Linked DNA regions of Homo sapiens: region 2 is linked to region 1. Evidence: promoter capture Hi-C in 16 types of primary human blood cells and fetal thymus (Javierre and others, 2016). All regions are on one chromosome and are shown on one strand. Each heading gives the region's core, a stretch centred on a gene start or on the middle of the fragment in contact. The rest is flanking DNA. Distances are from core to core; before and after follow the strand shown.

Region 1 (5,081 bases), core at 1,862-4,361:
GCTTGTGTTATTTTAAAATTTTGTCATTTACTATTTTTTTAAATTCTACGAGATAAATGAAATAAATACCAAGAATACCAACCTGTGGGAAATCTACATTTCCATTTTTTTTTCCTTCTAATTATAGTCACTTAACTTCAGAGCCAGGCAGGAACAGAAATACTTACTTAGAAGCAAGGACAACTTAATTATCTCTTTGTGTCCTCACTTTTTAATTAGTTCTGCCTCAAGTGCCAAAGAAGCAAACCCAGCCCCATCTATATTTTAAAGAGGAACAGAAAGATCCATCTTTAATGCTTCCAAAATCTCACTGATGAGTATTATTTCTTAACCTGTGTTACACATAATTAAATACTAGCAATAAACAAAAAACCAACTCTCTAGTTCTGCAACAGCTCCCGAACTGTGGCCTACAGCATTGCAGCAAACTCTCAGGGTGTTGTGGAATATTTTAAATTTTCGAGGGAAACACAGTGATATTTGCTCAATACCTCAAAACTACTAGCTCCAGGTGGTTCACAGCTTGAACATTACATTGTGCTATATTCCTTTCAATGACATTATTTCTTTGTGGAGCTGACTTTTAAGCAGCTGTTAGCAGTTGCTGTAATAAAAAACAAGAACAATGCTAAAAATCTACCTAGAACAGGAAATGAGGGTGGAAGTGTCCAATCTGATTCCAAGGTTTCAGACACTGGTGTAATGACCAACAGAGATACATTTCCCATTAGTAGTTATGGCTGTTTAAGAACAAAATAAACATATTATTTTTTTCTTTCAATTATGTTATCTTCTCAAATAGCTACTAAGTTGTTAGGACATAACTACTTATTAGGTTGTGTCAAAGGAAAATAAATCTCAGAACCCAAAATCACTAAGTCAAAGGTTAAAGTCAAGCTGGGAACTGCCTCAGACAAACCTGCCTCCCATTTTATTCCTAAATAAGATAGCTACAAAGAAAAAGAAGCTACATATCACCCTCATAATTTGCCCACATGGGCCTCAAGATCTTTACCCTAAAACACTTCTGTTGAATTTCACCCTGGCAATGTATTCATAAATTGATAGCTCATCTTCACAAGTGCCAAACAAAAGACAGAACTCTAAAGTCATCCTTCTGCTCACCTGAGATAAATGCTTATCTGATTGCTGACTCTGCCGTATTGTTTATGTGAAAATGCAGACTCACTGAGCCAGTCTAAGACATAAGTGATTATTCCTCTATCCCTCCTGCACATGTAAATTGTATTCAGTAAAAGGCTAATCAAAGACCCAAAAGAATGCAACCTTTTGTCTCCCATCTACCTATGACCTGGAAGCCCCCACTTCGAGTTGTCCCACTTTTCCAGGAGAACCAATGTATACCTTACATATGTGATTGATGTCTCATGTCTCCCTAAAATGTATAAAACCAAGCTGTGCCCCGACCACCTTGGGCACATGTCCTCAGGACCGCCTGAGGTTCTGCCACGGGTGCATCCTTAACCTTGGCAAAATAAACTTTCTAAATAAATGAACTGGGAAATATTTCTGGCCTAAGGGCATCATGAAAAAATTACTGAGAAAATTTGGGAACCTCTTCTCTAGACTCAAGAGACTCTACGTCATATAGGCACCTTTCTTGTCCCAGCTAATTTTAAATTTCACTCTTCTGAACAAATGCCCTCTGAATGCCAGTTATCCCTGCAAGAAACTCTTCTACCTCAATCTCAACGGAGAACATCCACTTATGTGGAATTACTTACCATTTGCACAAAGAAATCCTCACACCTCACTGCCAGGCAGCAGGAGGAAAGAACAAGGGTTAAAAGCAAGTGTTCTGGAGACAGACCACAAGCAAGTTTCTTAGCCTTCCTATGCCTCAGTTTCCTCGCGTTGTAAAACAGGGATGATAATAATGCCTACTCCACAGGGTTACTGTGTAGCTTCAATGACAGTTATAGGCAAGGACACTTCATTTTCATTTAAGACAAAAAGGAAAATCTGAAATGCTTGGCACAGCTCCTGGCATACAGATCTTCAATAATGCTGGGTGTTATTTTTATTCCTGTCTCTGTATGGAGCATGACCACTGGGTTCCAAAATGTATTCTACTTGGAAATCAGGCCACAGTCCCGTTAAGGATGGTGCTGAGTTTACTGGTGGCAGCGAGCTCCTTACCCCAGCAGAAAAGGGGCAGAGGCCGGGGGAAGGAGAACTTTTTTTAAAGGACTGATATGAGGTCCTTAGCTAGCAACTTCCCCCAGTGCTCAGGGGTTCTGAAGACACAGCTTGGTGCAAATTCACTTCTGACACAGGAAAAACAATTCAGAGGCCATGGATCTACTTCGGGGCGGTCCTCACGTAACGAAATGAAACGTTCAGAAACTGGTTTATTTATTTTTCTCTTGGGCCCATTTCTTTTTCGACATCCTTAGAGGACAGAAGGCAGCCCTCCCAGTTAGTTTCTCTTTCCCTCTCAACCCTGCAGCTTCCCGGCCGCCTCAAAGTGGCTTTTTGGACTCCTCTCAGCCTCAGCGGTTCCCAAGGTGACACCCTGAACCCCAGGGCGGTCCCTCGCGGCTCAGCCCCAGCCCGCAGTCCCCTCCCACACCGTGCCCAGGCCCTCCCCACCAGCCCGGCCCCCCGAGGCCCACACCTGGAGCATTTCCTGGCAGAAGGCGCGCACCGAGCGCAGCGAGGCGAGGTCCAGCTCCCGGACTATGAGCTCGCCCACCCCGCTGACGCCAGGCTCTGGGCCGCACTCCGCGGCCTGGCGGAGCTCGCGGCGGAGCTGACCCGCCGCCTCCTCGGCGCGCGCGCGGTCCCGGCAGCCCATGATCACCCGCGCTCCCAGGCGCAGTAGCTCGGCGGCCGTGGCGCGGCCCAGGCCGCTGTTCGCCCCGGTGATCAGCACAGTCTTCCCGTGCATGAGGCCGGGGTCCCCGCCTCTGCGCAGCCGCTGGACCCTGGGCCCCACGAACCGGCGGGCCGCCAGCCACAGCGCCCCGCCCAGAGCGGCCAGTACTGCCGCCGCAGTGGCCACTGCCATCGTCAGGCCCGAGGGCCCACCGGCCCCTCCACGGGAGTTCCGCAGCCGCCGCCTTACCGGAACCCAAGAGACCACCTGTACGCGGAGAACGCTGGGGCGCGGCGGGTCGGCCCCTGACGGTGCGCGTGGGGCATGCTGGGACTTGTAGTTTCCCTCTGGGGGGGTCGCCTGATTGGTTGTGAGAGTTCAGCGCCCTGGGTCCTGCGCCCTCCGTGGAAGCTCCTCCCAGCCTAATGATGGAGGCTGGGCAACCAGCACAGTGTTCAGGGTGCTGGGGTTCATACGTATTGAAATCCCAGAGTAGTGGCGGACTTCCCCATGGGAATGTCTGATGAGTACTTTGAATCACAGATCTCTGTACAGGCCCTGTTACAAATGCCACTCCTCAGGGCATTTCGTGTGTTTTCCTTTGAGGGCTCTTGGGACTTGTAAATTCAGTTCAATTCACCTTCTGAGGAATGGGCCCTGACAAGCTGAAGTCTGAGGTAGGACTGTTTTTCATAGATGAGACAAAGAATTAAGCAACATGAATCAGTTGGAAATAGAATGGTCGAGTAGTTCTCAAACTTAAATGCACATCAGAATCACCTGGAGGACTTGGGGTGGGGGTTCGGGGTGGGGGAATGAAACAAAACGAAAACAAAAAACCAGGGCCCCAGTATTAGAGTTTCTAATTCAATAGGTACAGGATGGGGCCTGATAATTTGCACTTTTAACAAGTTTCCAGGTGCTGCTGCTGCTGCAGATCTGGGAACCACACTTTGAGAACCACTGAACAAGACATTATGTCATTGGTCCCTATTAAAAAAAAGAAAGCCATCTTCAAATGATCTTCACACTGGCAGAGGTACAGTGGGAAAAGCTTGGACTTATTGTAAATATAGGCTTCTGAGCAGGCCATTTACAAATGCCTCCCTGCCCTCTCCATAGGACTATTACACACAACGATGGAAGGCAAAGTGCTTGGCTCACTGTAAAATGCCTCATTAATATCAGGGTTAGTGTCACAGGGACCCTTCTTCAAGCTACAAACTTCATAGCTGTAGACCAAGCTACTTTTAAAGACTCATTCGTTCGTCTGCCTCTCCATCCAATATGTGCCTGGCCCTGCCTGTTCCCTGTTAGAGCCACAGAGAAATGGGACACCATTTCTGCTCTCAGGGTGCTTACTTTCTGGAACTGTGATCTCCCACTTCCCACCCTCCACCCATTGCAGGTTCTCCAGACAAGGAAAAAGAACCACAGCTTGTGTCGTTTGAGACAAACTCCCCAATAATTGTGATAATCCATCTTCCACTCCCTTACATTTGGGAAGGATGTAACATGCAACTAATAGTCAGAATACAAAGAAAAAGGGATGGATTCCAGGAGGTTTCTTATGAGTAATGAGAATGGAGCTCAGAGGTGGGAAAGAGCACTCTTACTGGGGATTATACAAGGCACCAGGAACAGGAATCATGAGAGGTGGTCCTACACCACCCTATCCCCAATTTGAAGCTGCTACTCAAACTCATTGATCCCCCAGCATATGTTTCCACTTTATTGTCCTTTCTACCCATCCACATCTTGCCCATCCATCAAAATCACAGGCTACCTCAAGTCTTTCTTTCCTGACCACTTCCAGCCTATAAAGATCTCTGCTCCCTTCATGTGTGACCCTCAGGGTCATGTGTGACCCTCACTGGCACTGAAGACAAACAGCCTTCTAGTATTGGCTGTTTGAGTTTGCACATTTGACTTCCTTGACCAGATTGTTAAGGTTTCAAGTTTCCTAGAGGATAGGATTGTGTCTGCGTACCTCTTGTGGTCTTTGCATGGGAGGACACCTACAAAATGGTAGGTACTCAGTGTCACATGTCACAACTGATATATTTTGGACTGGTTTACATAAAATTAGGGAGCATCAGAAGATGTGTTTCAGCTGTGGTCTTCTCTCATCTAGAGCCAGGGGTGGAATACATATGTACAGGTGGAGTAGAGATGAAGGTGGAGGTAGAGAGAGCAGGAGAGGGTAGGAGGAAAAGAGGAGGGAGGAATCCTTAGACCTGCA
Region 2 (5,081 bases), core at 1,540-4,039, about 86 Mb after region 1:
ACAACTCTAAGGGGATCCATATCAGAGGGTCATGATCGATTGAGCAAGCAGGGGGTACCTGAGTGGGGGCTGCATGCACTGGTAATCAGAATGGAACATAACAGGACAGGGATTTTCACAATGCTTTTCCATACAATGTTTGAAATCTACAGATAACACAAGCAGTTAGGTCAGGGGTTGATTTTTAACTACCAGGCCCAGGGCCCAGTGCTGGGCTATCTCCCTGTGGATTCCATTTCTGCCTTTTAGTTTGTACTTCTTTCTTTGGAGGGAGAAATGGGGCATAAGACAATATGAGGGGTGGTATCCTCCCTTACTATGATGTCTTGATGGCTATAAGGTCATTAGGAGATAGGAACTTTTTAGCTCTATTATAATTTTATGGGACCACTGTCTTATGTGAAGGTCACTGTTGACCGAAACTGCATAATGCAGTGCATGACTGCATGCTAGTAAAGGACTGTGACATGAATTTCAAAAAAGGGAAAAATCTCCACCACTCCTAACCTTAATTTTAGTACTTAGTTCTTATATGGTCCAATATCAATAATTTTTTAATAGTATAAATCCTGCTTCCACATACTCACTGTTTTCTACTTGGTTAAATTTCCACAATTAAGATTTTAAAAAATTTTTAAATAATCTCACAATGTGTAGGAACTGCTGTTTAAAGACATCTATTTTAATGAGCTATAAAGTCTTGGTTCTCTGCTGCAAGCGGTGGCTCACGTCTGTAATCCTAGCACTTTGGGAGACCAAGGCGGGCAGATCACCTGAGGTCAGGAGTTCAAGACCAGCCTGGCCAACACGGCGAAACCCTGTCTCTACTAAAAACACAAAAATTAGCTGGGCATGGTGGTGGGCACCTATAATCCCAGCTACTCGGGAGGCTGAGGCAGGAGAATCGCTTGAACCCGGGAGGCAGAAGGTGCAGTGAGCCGAGATCACATCACTGCACTGCAGCCTGGACGACAAGAGCGAACTTCCATCTCAAAATAAATAAAATAAATAAATAAATAAAGTCTTGATTCCCAAATGCTAGTTTATCCATCCGTTGACAAAAAGAGTCGAACTCTGTAAAATATTTTGAAGAGATTTATTCTGAGACAAATATGAGTGATCATGGCCCATGACACAGTCCTCAGCAGGTCCTGAGAATTTGTGCCCAAGGTGGTCAGGGCGCAACTTGATTTTATACATTTTAGGGAGGCATGAGACATCAATCAAACACATTTAAGAAATACATTGGTTTGGTCCAGAAAGACCTGGGACTGATAGAAAGGGAATGTTCAGTTTAAGATAAAGATTGTGGAGACCAAAGTTCTCTGTAAGTCTTACAGTGGCTGCCCTTAGAGACAATGGATGACAAATGTTTCCTATTCAGATCTTAGTTAATCTCTTTAGGATTGGGAGGGTCTGGAAGAAAAAGATCTAGCTATGTTAATACAGATTCTTTACAGATGCATATCCCACCCCTCCAAGGACAGCTTTGCAGGGCCATTTCAAGATATGGCAAAGAAACATGTTTTGGGGTAAAATATTTTGATTTTCTTCCTTGTCTTGTAATGTTATGCCAGAGTCAGGTTGGAAAGTAAGTCACCATATATAGGGTTAAGTAAAACCCATCTAATAAGAATTTATGATTTGTAGGGCATGACTCCCCAAATCCTGTAGATAGGAATCTTGGGCAAGATAAAAAAATCAGAGTTTAGTCCTCCGACCTCTGCCAATTTCTCAAGATATCTTTTGCTAGTCTAAAAGCTAATAACAAAAAGAACAACAGGATGAGCATTTTATACAAGTAAATGTATTCCATTTAAAAGATTTTTCTTTATTGTGAAATTCTGCCATTCTACCTTTTTAATGCTAAAAAGTTCTGTTTCGTGAAATGATGGTGATAGTAGACGGCATTTATTTGCTTGACAACTTTGTATGATCTCAGATTTTCTGTGTGTTTTACTTTTACTGACCCTTCAAATCTAAGTGTGTGTAAACCCTTTTAAAGTGCGTTACTACATCATTTAGTATGTGTTTCGTAGAAAGCAACCTGGGAGTTAACTGCCAGGAGCACGCAAGTTTCAGAAAGCAAGACATACTCATCTCTATTCAACAATTAATCAGTTCTGATTGGGTTTCAAGTAAGGCTTAGTACCAACGCTTAGGGAGGGGCGTGCAAAAACGAGAAAGGTAGTGTTTGACCTTACCGGTTTAAGGTTTATCCTGTGCATTATACAGTTAAGAAACAACGCAGGAGAGTGCCAGGGAACCGAGAGGGGCTTGACAGTTGCTGCAGGAGAGTCTTGACTTGGAACCAGACGAACGTGGAAAGTTAGAGGAGGGGAAAACCCCTACTAGGATAAGGCAGACAGGAATCAAGGCTTGGAGCGCATCTGGGGCCCCGGCCGCCCTGCCCAGGTGGAGGAAGAGCCGGCTCGAGGTGCAGCAAGGGGGCTGGGAAGGAAGGGCTGGCTAAAGCGCCACGTGGATGTGAGTGCCAAAGAGACTAGGAGAGCGTGGAAGTGAGTCCCGAAGAGACTGAGTTCAGGACGTGAAGAGAAAGAGGCCGAGAAAAACGACCCACCAGCGATCCTTCTTGAGGTCGACACCGAGCAGGGGTGGAGTCGGATACGCCCCGCGGACACCATGCACCCAATCAGCGACGAGCTGTCGCGGATCGCGGGACACGCCCCCTGATCCAAAGGCCCGAGAAGCTCTTGCACAGGACAGCCTCTGGAACCCCGCGCCATTAGCGCCTGCGCCGTCTCTAGGCCCCGCCCCCTCACCCCTCCGGTCCTGGAGCTCCCACAGCTAACATGGCGGCGCCCTGTGTGTCCTACGGCGGAGCAGTTTCGTACCGGCTTCTTCTCTGGGGTAGGGGTAGCCTCGCCCGGAAGCAAGGCCTCTGGAAAACCGCGGCCCCTGAGTTGCAAACAAATGTCAGATCCCAGGTAAGGCCTGGGAAGACTGGAAGCGGCTTACCTCTGCCGCGCGAGGATGTGGAGCCAGCGCGGACACCTTCCCCCAGCGTCTCGCGTGCCTTCAGGCAGGGACTCTAGGATCTTAGGTATTTAGTGGAGGTCTGAGGTTGGGGGGGAGGAGGTGGGTATTGGCGTGCAGTAGCCGCTCTAGAGGTTGTTACTTGTTTTTTTGCGGGGTGCAGCGAGGGGAACTTACCTGAAGGTAGAAGTGGAGCGACCTCCTCCTTCATTTGGCTGCTGAGCTAAGTAAGGGTCGGTGCCTAGGTCTGTGTTGGGTCCAGTCCTACCCTGCCCTGCTGTCTAGGGAGGAGGAGGGCCGCGCCAGAGAAGAATGATGGGAATTGGATTCCTGCAGGTGCCTGGAAGACAATGGAGAAAGTCACGTTGTGTAGAGGACAGTGACTTTTTGAAAGTGCCTTCAATATGCGCAATTTCTGGCTTCTTAATTTTCCCGAATCCCCCTCTATGGAAAGATGCAGGCCAGAACTTGTACGTTTCGTTTAATCCAGGGAGAAGTGGGGAGTCAACAGCTGGATGGCTGATGATGCCAGTTTACTGACATGCGATCTCAGAGCAGGAAAAAGATTTGAGAGGGAAGAAACGAGTTTAGTATGGGATTATGTTTTTAGGCATCTGGGATTTCCAGTAGGTCTACGGATAGTCAAGTGTATAGCTCAGGAGGAGAACTGATTTCGAAATGCCCTGTTACCTTGTAAATGGTAACTGAGGCCTTGTAAACAAATTAAATTACCTAGGGAGAGTGTACTGAGGAGTAGGCAGAGGGACAGGGCCCTGAAGGACAAATAAGAAATAAGAGGCCTCAAGAGATTGAGAATGAGGGACCAAAGAAGCAGGAGAGAAACCAGCCAGTGTGGTGTCATGGAAAACAGGTGAATGTTTCAAGGAGGGAGAGTGATAACAAGTACCAATTATTGCAGGAAAGTCAAATACCATACTTTAAAAACTATATTTAAAAAAAAAAACATCTTTTTGTATGTTCTTTCCTTTATATTTTAATCTAGATCAACCAGTCCATTCTATCTATTCATGTGGACATTTGTTTTTTTTTTTTTTCTTACTGGAAAATGTGCTAGAAATTTTTATTTTTTCATGCATCTCTTTGAGTATATCTTTGCTACATACGCATGATTATGAGAGGGACTATATCATACAGAGTATTTTTATTGTTGACATTTAATGTATGTATTGGGGGATGGCTAACTTTCTGTCCCTCCTGGTATCTATTCTTCTATGTTTTTTCCATGTTCTTATAATCATGCATAAACATACATGCACAGGTGTACTTTACAAAAAATGGTACCATATTTGATTGCATTTTACTTTCTGCTTTTCTCTTGTACATATGCAGTATATTGTAAAGTAGAAATCCTTCAGGGTCCCCTATTATGTTTTTAAAAGCATTTTTAACTGCTGCATACTATTCCATGATAAGAATATATCAAAGTTAATGTAACAATTGATGGACATTTGCTTTGTTTCTACTTTCTTTGCACTAATAAAGTTTCAGTAAACATCTGGTCTAGTTCTTAAGTACTGGTTTAGTAAAATGGATGAAGAATGATTTCTCCTGTTACTTTAATTTTCATCTCCTTGACCATTCTTGAAACAACCTCTTTCCCCCATATGGCAAATGTTTACTGAGCACTTTACCTGAGCCAGGCACTGTGAAGTAAACAATTTAAAGTCAAACAATTACAAGATAGTATCCACCCTTAGCACTCTTAAGGGATGGTCCTGAAATGGCTGAATCCCCAGATTCCTGAATACTACTACAGCATATATTTTACCACATTAAGTACAGCTCAGATATAACTGAAACACTTAGCTGACCCCCCTTTAGATTCTTATGATTGCATACATATACCTAAAGACATTGATAAAGCTTTTTTTTTTATCGTGGTGCAGAGCTTATCTGTCTTAAACATTAACATTTTTTCACTTCTGCCTCCAACATTAATAGATAGATTTCTCTTGGTAGCCCATGTTTTATAAAATAATAAAAATTTTAATCACTTAATGAGTGACAAAACACTATACCTGGTCTTTTGTTTGTTCCACTTTTAATTTCCTTAATTACAAAAT

What was found. The method cuts DNA at HindIII sites, captures the fragments that hold promoters and counts their contacts. A CHiCAGO score of 5 or more calls a contact.
Region 2: a contact is called between the fragment with the promoter of MRPS9 here and the fragment with the promoter of RDH14 in region 1, in 1 of 17 cell types (total CD4 T cells). The highest score is 5.4, in total CD4 T cells.

Annotation. Positions count from the first base shown.
Region 1 is chr2:18,557,542-18,562,622 of GRCh38, forward strand. RDH14 (retinol dehydrogenase 14) reads right to left here and starts at 3,112. Exons shown (of 2, transcript NM_020905.4): 1 at 2,639-3,112. The coding sequence starts at 3,031. The region is part of intron 10 of NT5C1B-RDH14 (NT5C1B-RDH14 readthrough); the gene reads right to left. It overlaps LOC105373456 (a long non-coding RNA gene), which reads left to right and starts at 2,635. Exons shown (of 6, transcript XR_007086234.1): 1 at 2,635-3,150. RefSeq lists enhancers at 2,272-2,321, 3,132-3,181, 3,242-3,291, 3,302-3,521 and a silencer at 2,532-3,041. The HindIII fragment of the contact is 4,929 bases long and covers 1-3,891 here.
Region 2 is chr2:105,035,280-105,040,360 of GRCh38, forward strand. It overlaps MRPS9 (mitochondrial ribosomal protein S9), which reads left to right and starts at 2,790. Exons shown (of 11, transcript NM_182640.3): 1 at 2,790-2,948. The coding sequence starts at 2,814. It overlaps MRPS9-AS2 (MRPS9 antisense RNA 2), which reads right to left and starts at 3,217. Exons shown (of 3, transcript NR_110603.1): 1 at 3,175-3,217. RefSeq lists enhancers at 2,197-2,406, 2,427-2,476, 2,527-2,576, 2,747-3,076, 2,830-3,772. The HindIII fragment of the contact is 6,591 bases long and covers 1-4,879 here.